Regions from separate parts of the Homo sapiens genome. Here region 1 is linked to region 2. The links are contacts of gene promoters, found by promoter capture Hi-C in blood cells and fetal thymus (Javierre and others, 2016). All regions are on one chromosome and are shown on one strand. Each heading gives the region's core, a stretch centred on a gene start or on the middle of the fragment in contact. The rest is flanking DNA. Distances are from core to core; before and after follow the strand shown. Region 1 overlaps INTS4 (integrator complex subunit 4). Region 2 holds the start of NDUFC2 (NADH:ubiquinone oxidoreductase subunit C2).

What was found. The method cuts DNA at HindIII sites, captures the fragments that hold promoters and counts their contacts. A CHiCAGO score of 5 or more calls a contact.
Region 1: a fragment that was not itself captured here is called in contact with the fragment with the promoter of NDUFC2 in region 2 in 2 of 17 cell types (naive CD4 T cells and M2 macrophages); the score reaches 5.3 in naive CD4 T cells.

Annotation. Positions count from the first base shown.
Region 1 is chr11:77,986,373-77,991,334 of GRCh38, reverse strand. INTS4 (integrator complex subunit 4) reads left to right here. Exons shown (of 23, transcript NM_033547.4): 2 at 36-227. Among named protein-coding and RNA genes, the nearest start is that of INTS4, 5.8 kb to the left of the region's middle. The HindIII fragment of the contact is 1,128 bases long and covers 2,880-4,007 here.
Region 2 is chr11:78,077,151-78,082,701 of GRCh38, reverse strand. It overlaps NDUFC2 (NADH:ubiquinone oxidoreductase subunit C2), which reads left to right and starts at 2,840. Exons shown (of 3, transcript NM_004549.6): 1 at 2,840-3,123. The coding sequence starts at 2,958. It overlaps NDUFC2-KCTD14 (NDUFC2-KCTD14 readthrough), which reads left to right and starts at 2,840. Exons shown (of 3, transcript NM_001203262.2): 1 at 2,840-3,123. The coding sequence starts at 2,958. LOC105369401 (a long non-coding RNA gene) reads right to left here and starts at 1,507. Exons shown (of 3, transcript XR_950342.2): 1 at 1,261-1,507. RefSeq lists a silencer at 2,668-2,857 and an enhancer at 3,061-3,120. The HindIII fragment of the contact is 4,740 bases long and covers 1-4,430 here.

The DNA.
Region 1 (4,962 bases), core at 2,194-4,693, 92 kb after region 2:
GATTCTGTGTTTTCGATTTTCTCTACCCCTTGCAGCCACAGGAGGAAATTGCTACTAAGAAACTCCGACTAACAAAACCAAGTAAATCTGCAGCACTCCACATAGATCTGTGTAAAGCTACCTCCCCAGCAGATGCTTTGCAATACTTGCTCCAGTTTGCCAGGAAGCCTGTCGAGGCGGAAAGCGTAGAGGGAGTAGTCAGGATTCTCTTGGAACATTATTACAAGGTAAGAAAATCTTGAGGATCTGATGGGAGTATATCATGGGAGTTGTATCATGTCTGCAGAATGGTTAATATTACAAATAAATAGGGTATTCATTAGGAAGCTTTTATTGAGTGTCTTCCAAGTGCTAGGTACTATGGATACCGAGATAAAAAAGATACAGATCTTGACCTCAGAAAGTTATACTGTGTATAGTAGATGGAAACAAGACATGTCAATGATAAGGTGCATCATACTGCTGAAGTTACTGTGAGTGCAGTATGTGCAGAGTACAGTGGAAGCACAAAAGAGGAGTAAATATCAATCATGACCCATTCATCTCTGGAATGTGGTCCTGCTGTTCCTTTCCTAATTCATGGCCCTCATATCTAATTGCAGTGGCCCTCTTTTTTAATTAAAAATACATTTTTTTTTTTTTTTTTTTGGAGACAGAGTCTCGCTCTGTTGCCCATGCTGGAGTGCAGTAGTGCAATCTTGGCTCGCTGCAACCTCTGCCTCCTGGGTTCAAGCGATTCTCCTGCCTCAGCCTCCTTAGTAGCTGGGATTACAGGCACGTGCCACCACACCCTGCTAATTTTTGTATTTTTAGTAGAGACGGGGTTTTGCCATGTTGGCCAGGCTGGTCTCGAACTCCTGACTTTAAGTGATGCAGCCACCTTGGCCTCCCAAAGTGTTAGGATTACAGGCGTGAGCCACTGCGTCTGGCCAAAAAAACTGTTTTTGAGACAGAGGCTCACTGTCACCCAGCCTAGAGTTTAGTGGCATCATCATAGGTCACTGTAGCCTGGAACTCCTGGGCTTAAGTGATTCTCCTGGCTCAGCCTTCCACGTAGGTGGGACTGCAGACGTGCCACTACTCCAGGCTAAGTTTTGCATTTTTTTTTTTTTTTTTTTTGAGACTTGGTCTGTCACTCAGCCTGGAGTATAGTGGTGGCACAATCTTGGCTCACTGCAACCTCCGTCTCTTTGGTTTAAGTGATTCTCCTGCGTCAGCCTCCAGAGTGGCTAGGACCGCAGGTGTGTGACACCACACCCAGCTAATTTTTTTTGTATTTTTAGTAGAGGTGGGGTTTTGCTGTGTTGGCCAGGCTGGTCTTGTACTCCTGACCTCAAGTGATCCATGCACCCTGGCCTCCCAAAGTGCTGGGATTGCAAGCGTGAGCTACCATTCCCAGCCCAAAAATCATTATTATTATTACTATTATTATTTTTGAGATGGGGTCTTGCTTTCTCGCCCAGGCGGGAGTGCAGTGGTGCTATCACGGCTCACTGTACCCTCGACCTCCGAGGCTCAATTGATCCTCCTGCCTCAGCCTTCTGAGTAGCTGGGACTACAGGCATGTGCAGCATGCCTGGCTAATTTTTGTATTTTTTTTTTTTTTTTGTAGAGACAGGGCTTTGCTATGTTGCACAGGCTGATCTCGAATTCCTGGGCTCAAGCAATCCACCCTCCTTGGGCTTCCAAATTGCTGAGATTACAGGTGTGAACCACCACACTCAGCCCCCAAATTGTTAAGCTTATGGAAAAGTAGATAAAATACTATAGTGACCTACCAAATATCCATTCCTAGAATTTAACAGTTATTAGTATTTTGCCAAATTTGCTCTATTTTTTCGCTGAATTTTATTTTATTTTGTTATTATTTTTTTTGAGATGAGTCTCACTCTGTTGCCCAGGCTGGAGTGTAATAGCACTCCTGGGTTCAAGCAGTTCTCCTGCCTCAGCCTCCCAAGTAGCTGGGACTACAGGAGTGCGCCATCACGCTCAGCTAATTCTGTATTTTTAGTAGAGATGGGGTTTCACCATGTTGGCCAGGCTAGTCTCGAATTCCAGACCTCGGGTGATCCACCTGCCTCGGCCTCCCAAAGTGCTGGGATTACAGGTGTGAGCCACCGCGCCCAGCCTTGTTTTGTTGAATTTTTAAAAAGATATGTCATTTTTTTCTAATTATTTCATTACATATCTATTAAAAAGGGATACCTTTTTGTTGTTTTCTTTTTTTTTCTCACTGCTATGAGAAAGTAGAGGGACTTTTTATTTTTTAACATAGCCACCTAACCCTAATGAATAAAGTTAAGTAATTCTTTAATGTCATCTAAGAATTAGTTGATATTTAGATTTCTGTAGTTGTTCTCCCAGTACCTTTTTATAGTTGATGTATTCAAATCAAAATGCAAACCAGGTCCCCACATGGCATTCAGTCTTTTCAAAAATCTACAACAGTTACTATTTTGGTGACATTGATTTGATGAAGAAACTGAGACAGTTCTTTTGTAAAATGTCTTGTTTTCTGAATTCATTTACTTCTTTAAGGATTAACTTGTTCCTCTGTTCTCTGTATTTACTATGAACTGAAAGTTAGATCTATAGGCTTTGTTAGATTTAAGTTAAGCATATTTTTGACAATTTTAAGACTATGTTATAAATGGTGACTTGTACTTCATATTGCAGCTATCAGCATGCAAATGTCACCGTTACATTGAGGTCTTCCTTTACCCTTCTGTTTCATATCGAAACTGCCTATCCCCACCCCGCACTTCCTAGTCCCCTTCCTTGATTTTGTTTTCTCCATAGTAATTACCATCTTCTAATATTCTGTATAATTTCTTGTTAATTATGTTCCTTGTCCATTTCCCCATGCAGGAACATAAGCTTCCCTTGAGCAGGGATTTTTATGTTTTTTAATTGTTGTTTCTACAGAATCAAGAACAGTGCCTGGTAAAATAAATATTTGTTGAATGAATAAATGAATTAATTGATGCTTTTGTGATACATTTTACTCAACAAATATATATCAGACTTTGTTCTGGGCACTGGACGGTGTCCATTAGCACAATTGTTAAGTCTTATGCGTTGCAATTGTTTGCCATATGTGTCTATCTCCTTCAGACTTTGAGCTCCGTAAATTCAGAGGCTGCAGATCCATTAGTCTCTATCCCAGTGCCTGGCAGGTTCCTAGGAACATTGAAGGGACATTATAAATGTTTCACTTATGTTTTACGTGAATAAAATCAGGCTTTCTTTTTTTGTTGTTCTTTTCTTTAAAAAATTTTTTAAAAAATCGTATCTATCTATCTAGAGACTGGGTTATGAGACTGGCTAATTTTTATATTTTTGATAGAGATGAGGTTTCACCATGTTACCAAGGTTGGTCTCAAACTCCTGGGCTCAAGCGATTCACCTACCTCAGCCTCCCAAAGTGCTGGGATTACAGGCATGAACCACTGTGCCTGGCATCTTTTTGAGTGTTGCTCTGTTGCCCAATCTAGAGTGCAATGGCGTGATCACTGCCCACTGAAGTCTGGACTCCCAGGCTCAAGCCATCCTCCCACCTCAGCCTCCTGAGGAGCTGGGACCACAGGCACATGCCACCACTCCCGGCTAATTTTTTCTTTTTAATTTTTTTTGTAGAGATGGAGTCTCTCTGTGTTGCCCAGGCTGGTCGCGAATTCCTGAGCTCAAGCAACCCTCCTGCTTGGCCCTCCCAAAGGATTGGGATTACAGACGTGAGCTACCACATCTGACCAAAATCAGGATTTCTGTTCTCAAGAAGTTTTCGATCTCTCAGTGATCTATTTTCCGTTAGTCTTTTTCTTAGCAATATCTACCATTATTATTATATTAAAGATCTGTTACCAATAATCATCTATAATAATACTTCTTAGAGCAGTTAACATTATATTGCTTGTTAGAGTTTGAAAGCACTTTCCATATGTAATATTTTATTTAATCCTGGTGACAGCACCATTGTTATCTCTAAATTCCAGATATGGAACTAAGCTTAGAGCTGTTTAGTATCCAAGGTCACCCAGCTAGTAAATGGAAGGTATGGATTTGAACTTGGGTTTTTTTTTTAAAAAACCTTTTGTTATGGAACATTTCAGATATATACTATGTAAGTAAAGAGAATAGTTTAATTAATTCCCATGTACCCATTACCTGGCTTCAAAAATTATCATTTTGTGGCCAAACTTGTTTCATTTTCCCTCTTCCCCAATCCACTTCTACTTCTTTACCCTCACCTTCTCCACCAGATTCTTATGAAAATAAATTCCTGGCATCATATTATTTTAATCATAAATTTTGATTTATATCTTTAAGTGGTGAAGACTCTTTTTTTATTATTATACTTTAGGTTCTAGGGCACATGTGCACAACGTGCAGGTTTGTTACATGTGTATACATGTGCCATGTTGGCTTGCTGCACCCATTAACTCATCATTTACTTTAGGTATTTCTCCTAATGCTATCCCTCCCCCAGCCCCCCACTCCCCAACAGGCCCCGGTGTGTGATGTTTCCCGCCCTGTGTCCAAGTGTTCTCACTGTTCAATTCCCACCTATGAGTGAGAACATGCGGTGTTTGGTTTTCTGTCCTTGTGATAGTTTGCTGAGAAGGATGGTTTTCAGCTTCATCCATTTCCCTGCGAAGGACATGAACGCATCCTTTTTTATGGCTGCATAGTATTCCATGGTGTATATGTGCCACATTTTCTTAATCCAGTCTATCGTTGGTGGACATTTGGGTTACTTCCAAGTCTTTGCTCTTGTGAATAGTGCCGCAATAAACATACGTGCACATGTATCTTTATAGTAGCATGATTTATAATCCTTTGGGTATATACCCAGTAATGGGATTGCTGGGTCAAATGGTATTTCTAGTTCTAGATCCTTGAGGAATTGCCGCACTCTCTTCCACAATGGTTGAACTAATTTACACTCCCAACAGTGTAAAAGTG
Region 2 (5,551 bases), core at 1,591-4,090:
GGAGGCCTGGCTCATAATGCCAGTGGGTGTCTGTGTGGGACTAGGCTAGAGGAAACACTCTTTCCCATTCATCTGGGGAGAGGGTAGAAATTAGGATGACATTTAAGCCACTCCAGGTTAAATTGTAAGACTGGGTTAAATACTGGAATTCATGTATATATTTGGTGGGGTCTGACGAGAAGGAGCCTAAGTGTTGATTAATTTGGGAAAGGTCTGATAGAGAAAATGGTACATGCACTCTGACGATGCCCTCAGTTCCAGCCACTTCTTGAAGAGGAAATTATTGGGCAGGTGGGGGAGTATTTGCCGCAGAACGAAATTGTAAGCTGGACCAGGTGTGGGGAGGGGAGATGATAGAAGGGTTGTAGGGTGGGGAAGTGGAGGCTGAGGAAGAGTTGGAAGCTGATTCAGCCTGGTGGGGAGCGACCTGAGGAGGAGCAGTCTAGGGAGGAGGGTAGAAGTCAGATGGGTCGGTAGAAAAGAAATATTCAAAAGACTCACCGGCACTTCAGGTTGGGACTGAAGGGACAGGCGGGAGGGAAAGAAGGAAGATTTGCGGCAAGTCGCACTGGGAACAGAGATTAGGGAAGGAACGAAGTGTAAAAAATGCCTGGATGTAGGGCACCTCAGACCATTTGCCCATTTTATGACAAAAATTATCTAGATCTTGTAGGCTGGAGAAATCGAAAGTGCTCTTTTCTGGCCATTTAGAGCCATTATCAAGTTTGTATTGGGGCCAAGTGGTGTTGCAGAAGAAAATAAGACACTTAGGTTTTAGGTCAGGTGAGAGTTGAAGAGGTTTTAAGTTTTTAAGAACACAGGCTAAGAGAGGAAGAAGAAGGAATGGAGGGCTGAAGGTTGCCCATAGTAAAAAGGTAAGTTTAGAGAAAGGAGGAGGTTGAGACATGGAGAGAGGGGGGGTGGTACTTGCCACCCAGGGGAAGTGGTACTTGCCACCAAGGTGGAAGATCAAAACAGGTGTCCCCGCAGTGATCGAACACCTCTGAAATGTGGGTGAATAATCAGGCAGGCGTCCCTGCAGTGACTAAACACAAGGGAAGACAGTCTTCCCGAGTCCATGACCAGCGCCAGAGTTTTGGGTCCACAGATAAAACGGGTCTCCTCTGTCTCTACCAGACAGGGAAAGGAACCGAAATTAAGGGAAGGGAGAGACTGAAGGGTGGTGCCGAAATTGAAAGGAGAAAGAGGTTGAGGGATAGTGAAAGAGGTTGAAGAAGAGAGTAGAAAGAGGCCACTTACCCGATTTAAAATTGGTGAGATGTTCCTTGGGCTGGTCTGAGGACCCGAGGTCGTAGGTAGATCTTCCTCACGGAGCAAAGAGCGGGAGGACAGGGGATTGATCTCCCAAGGAAGGTCCCCCGATCCAAGTCATAGCACCAAATGTCAAATGCATCCGTGTGAAGAGACCACCAACAGGCTTTGTGTGAGCAACAAGGCTGTTTATTCACTTGGGTGCAAGTGGGCTGAGTCCGAAAAGAGAATCAATGAAGGGAGATGGGGAAGGGGTTGCTTTATAGGATTTAGGTAGGTAATGGAAAATTACAGTAAAAGGTGGTTGTTATCTATTGTTAGCAGGGGAGGGGGTCACAAGGTACATGATGGGGAGATCATAAGACTTATTGTCCAGAAGAAGAATGTCACAAGGATGGTTGATCAGTTAAGGTAGGGCAGGGACCAGTCACAATGGTGGAATGTTTGTTAATCAGTTAAGGCAGGAAGTGGCTGTTTTACTTCTTTTGTGGGTTTTTGGCTGCCCCAGACTTCTTGGCTCCCGCAGGCCATCTGGACGCATATGTGCAAGTCACAGGGGTTACAATGGTTGAGCTTCGGCTGAGAGGCCTGACAGCAGAGACTGGAAAATTGCTTAACAGAATTATAAATTCCTTCTTTCATTACTCAAACCTTTTTTTTTTTCTTTTTGAGACGAAGTTTCGCTCTTGTTGACCAGGCTGGAATGCAATGGTGCGATCTCGGCTCACTGCAACCTCCACCTCCCAGGTTCAAGCGATTCTCCCCCCTCAGCTTCCCGAGCAGCCGATTATGCTGCCTCAGCCTTCCCAGTAGCTGGGACTACAGGCACCCGCCACCACGCCCAGCTAATTTTTTGTATTTTTCGTAGAGATGGGATTTCACCATGTTGGCCAAGCTGGTCTTGAACTCCTGAAGTGATCCGCTCACTTCAGCCTCCCAAAGTGATGGGATTACAGGCGTGAGTGACGGCGCCTGGCCTCATTACTCAAACCTTTAGGGAACACCTCCTCACTCAGCCATGTGTAACGACGTGAAGACCCAGAGGTGAAACATTTTAGGGTGCTGCCTCCGAATCTGAATTTCAACAATAGACTAAAACGATCCAGTCCTGGGCTTCTCTAAATTCTTTTGTTGCTGGCCAGACCTTAATTTTAGGCTTTGGAGGGAGTGTCTATGCGAATGAACGACTGAAAACTCAGAAAACGAAAACTAGCTTTTATGGAATTTCAATTAATTACGTTTATCAAAACTACGCATCATGCCCATTTGTGGGTATTGGATGAAAAGATAAATCTTTCCAGAAGGGGCAGGGGAGGGAGAGGCAATTCTGGTTGGGGAAGTTGGGAGAAAAGAAAATCAGTATCTCCTAGTCTTCGCCCAGTTTGGCTCGTTTGGGGTACTCCTCGACCCCGCGTTACCAGGCCCGTGAATCCCACTCCCACCAGAGAATTAGCGCGGGCGGACGAGCAAAGTGAAACTTAGTAGCCCGGAACTTCGCGTGCCGGGTTCCCGCAGCAACACGTACCGGGAAGCGTTTGGGCGCTGCACCGCGCTGCGCCGTGCCCGTGAGTCCGGCGCGCAGAGGAGGAGGAGAAAGCTGACCGCTTAGGCCGGGGTAGTGGTCGTCGTGGTTTTCCTTGTAGTTCGTGGTCTGAGACCAGGCCTCAAGTGGAAACGGCGTCACCATGATCGCACGGCGGAACCCAGAACCCTTACGGTTTCTGCCGGATGAGGCCCGGAGCCTGCCCCCGCCCAAGCTGACCGACCCGCGGCTCCTCTACATCGGCTTCTTGGGCTACTGCTCCGGCCTGATTGATAACCTAATCCGGCGGAGGCCGATCGCGACGGCTGGTGAGTGCTGCGCGGCCGGGATCGGCTGGGAGGAGAAGGGGTCGTAGGGCTGCAGACTGGCCCGGCCGTAGGCCCCCCTGAGGTGCTCTGCTTTTCCGTGCCTTTTTGCCTAGCTGGCCCCATCTCGCCTTTCCGGGGAGTCCGCGCCCCATTAGCTCTTTAGAATCAAGCAGAGCCAGAGTGTCATTTGGCACTTGAAGAAACTGAGGTGCAGTGAAGCAGGAACTGAGTCTGTGAAGGACCCGAAACTACTCTCCTCAGTTCGTGTTGTGCTGTGTGCGCAAATGAGCCATGACTCCATGCCATGCACTACTCACACTGTGGGCATTATTGATAGCATTTCGGCCTTAAAACACTTTTAGGGATGTATTATTCACAACGAGGAAACCGAGCCTAACAGATTAACAGCAGCTTGCCCAAGGTCATATGGCTATTAAGTAGCAGAGCTTGGTTTTTTTTTTTTTTGACCTCTGAATGGATATTGGACACCAGTGCTTCTCAAACTTAATGTGCATACGAATAGCATAGGTGTCTTGTTAAAATTCGGATTCTGGGCTGCGCGAGGTGGCTCACACCTGTAATCCCAGCGCCTTGGGAGGCCGTGGCGGGCGGATCGCCTGAGCTCAGGAATTCGATACCAGTATGGGCAATAGGGCGAAAACCCGTCCCTACAAAAAAATACAAAAGTTAGCCGGGCGTGGTGGTGCACGCCTGTGGTCCCAGGCTGAGGGAGGCTGAGGCAGGAGGGTCGTTTGAGCCTGGAAGGCAGAGGTTGCAGTAAGCCGAGATTGCACCATTGCACTCCAACCTGTGCAACAAAGTGAGACCCTGTCTCAAAAAAAAAAAAAAAGCGGATCCTGATTCATGAGGTCTGGGGAGGAACTTGATGTTAACAACAAGCGCTCAAACACTGCTGCTGCTGGTCTGAGGACCACGGTTTGAATAGGAGGCTCTAAACCAGTGTGCTGTACTTCCCAGTAGTATGTCACTGGCTTCCTATCAGAGACACTGACTATTCTGATAATAACCACCACAGTAGCTTTGCTAAGCTCTATGGATTTCCAGAGGGAAAAGAGGAGAGGAACTTTGGAAGAGGGGTCTTTGAAGTTAACTTTGATTATCAGGCAGGACTGAGAGACAGACAGCTTTCTAGGCCCGTGGGGCTAGTGGGAGCTAATGGGGGCAAGGACCTCTGAATGGAGGGTGTTTGATGATTGAGTGAGTGTTCAGGTTTAGATAAAACTGCAAGGGAGATTTTAGCAGAGCATGGCAATTTATTTTCTAGGCAGTCAGGAACTTTGTAAGCTTTTGAGAGCTGCAAGGGTGCAGTGATGAGCTCTGTATTTTAAAAAGTCATCTTTGTCAGCAATGTGAGGCGTTGATTGGAGCCAAGAAGCACAATCAGGAAAAAAGCTCAGGCAATGGTTCAGGCAATTAGGAGTCACCACACTTGTACCTCTTTTGCCTTCTTACAGCTGTATGTCATGCCTGAAGGTCAGCTCCCAACCCATCAAATCCCACATTTCCAGTGCTCAAATAGTATTGAAGTCCTATCTCCCTTGGACATAACTCCTCACTTCAGAAAGGAGTCATCTTTGTCCGTTTATGCCTCTGAGGACTCGAGGTTTTCCCTTTTCATCACCACTTCATATTTGCCCAAGACTGTCACTTGGTGTAATGAAAAGAGCTCCACTTTGGAACTAAACAAACTTGCTCACTAGGCACAGGCACTGTGGTTCACACCTGTAATCCCAGCACTTTGGGAGACCAAGGCAGGAACATCTCTTGAGGCCAGGAGTTCAAGACCAGCCTGGGCAACATAGTGAGACCCTGTCTCTACAAAAAAATTTAAAAAATTAGCCAGGCATGGTGATGTGCACTTGTAGTCCCAGGTACTCAGGAAGCTAAGGGAGGAGAATCACTTGAGCCCAGGAGGTTGAGGCTGCAGCGAGCCACGATTGCACCACTGCACTCCAGCCTGGGCAACAAAGTTGAGACCTTGTCTCCAATAAATAAATAAATAAACAGACTTGCTCTGCTGCTTTCCAGCTGTGTCACTTTGGGCAAGTTACATGGTCAGGTCGATCAGAGCCAAAGTTTCCTCATCTATAAAATAAGAATAATTAATTTTTGCATATTTGTTGTGAGAATTGAGTGAGATTCTGTAGGTAAAATGTCTGACATGCAAAAGGTGCTGGACAGAGTTCCCCTTCCTTAGCTCTTGTTATGCAAACAGTTTACCATATATTTGTAAATTGTTCATTTACAGAACCCTTTTTTTTTTTTTGAGACAGGGTCTCACTCTGTCACCCAGGCTAGAGGGCAGTGGTGCACTCATGGCTCACTGCAGCCTCGACCTCCTGGGCTCAGGCGATCCTCCTATCCTAGCCTTCCAAGTAGCTGGGACTACAGGTACATACCACCAGGC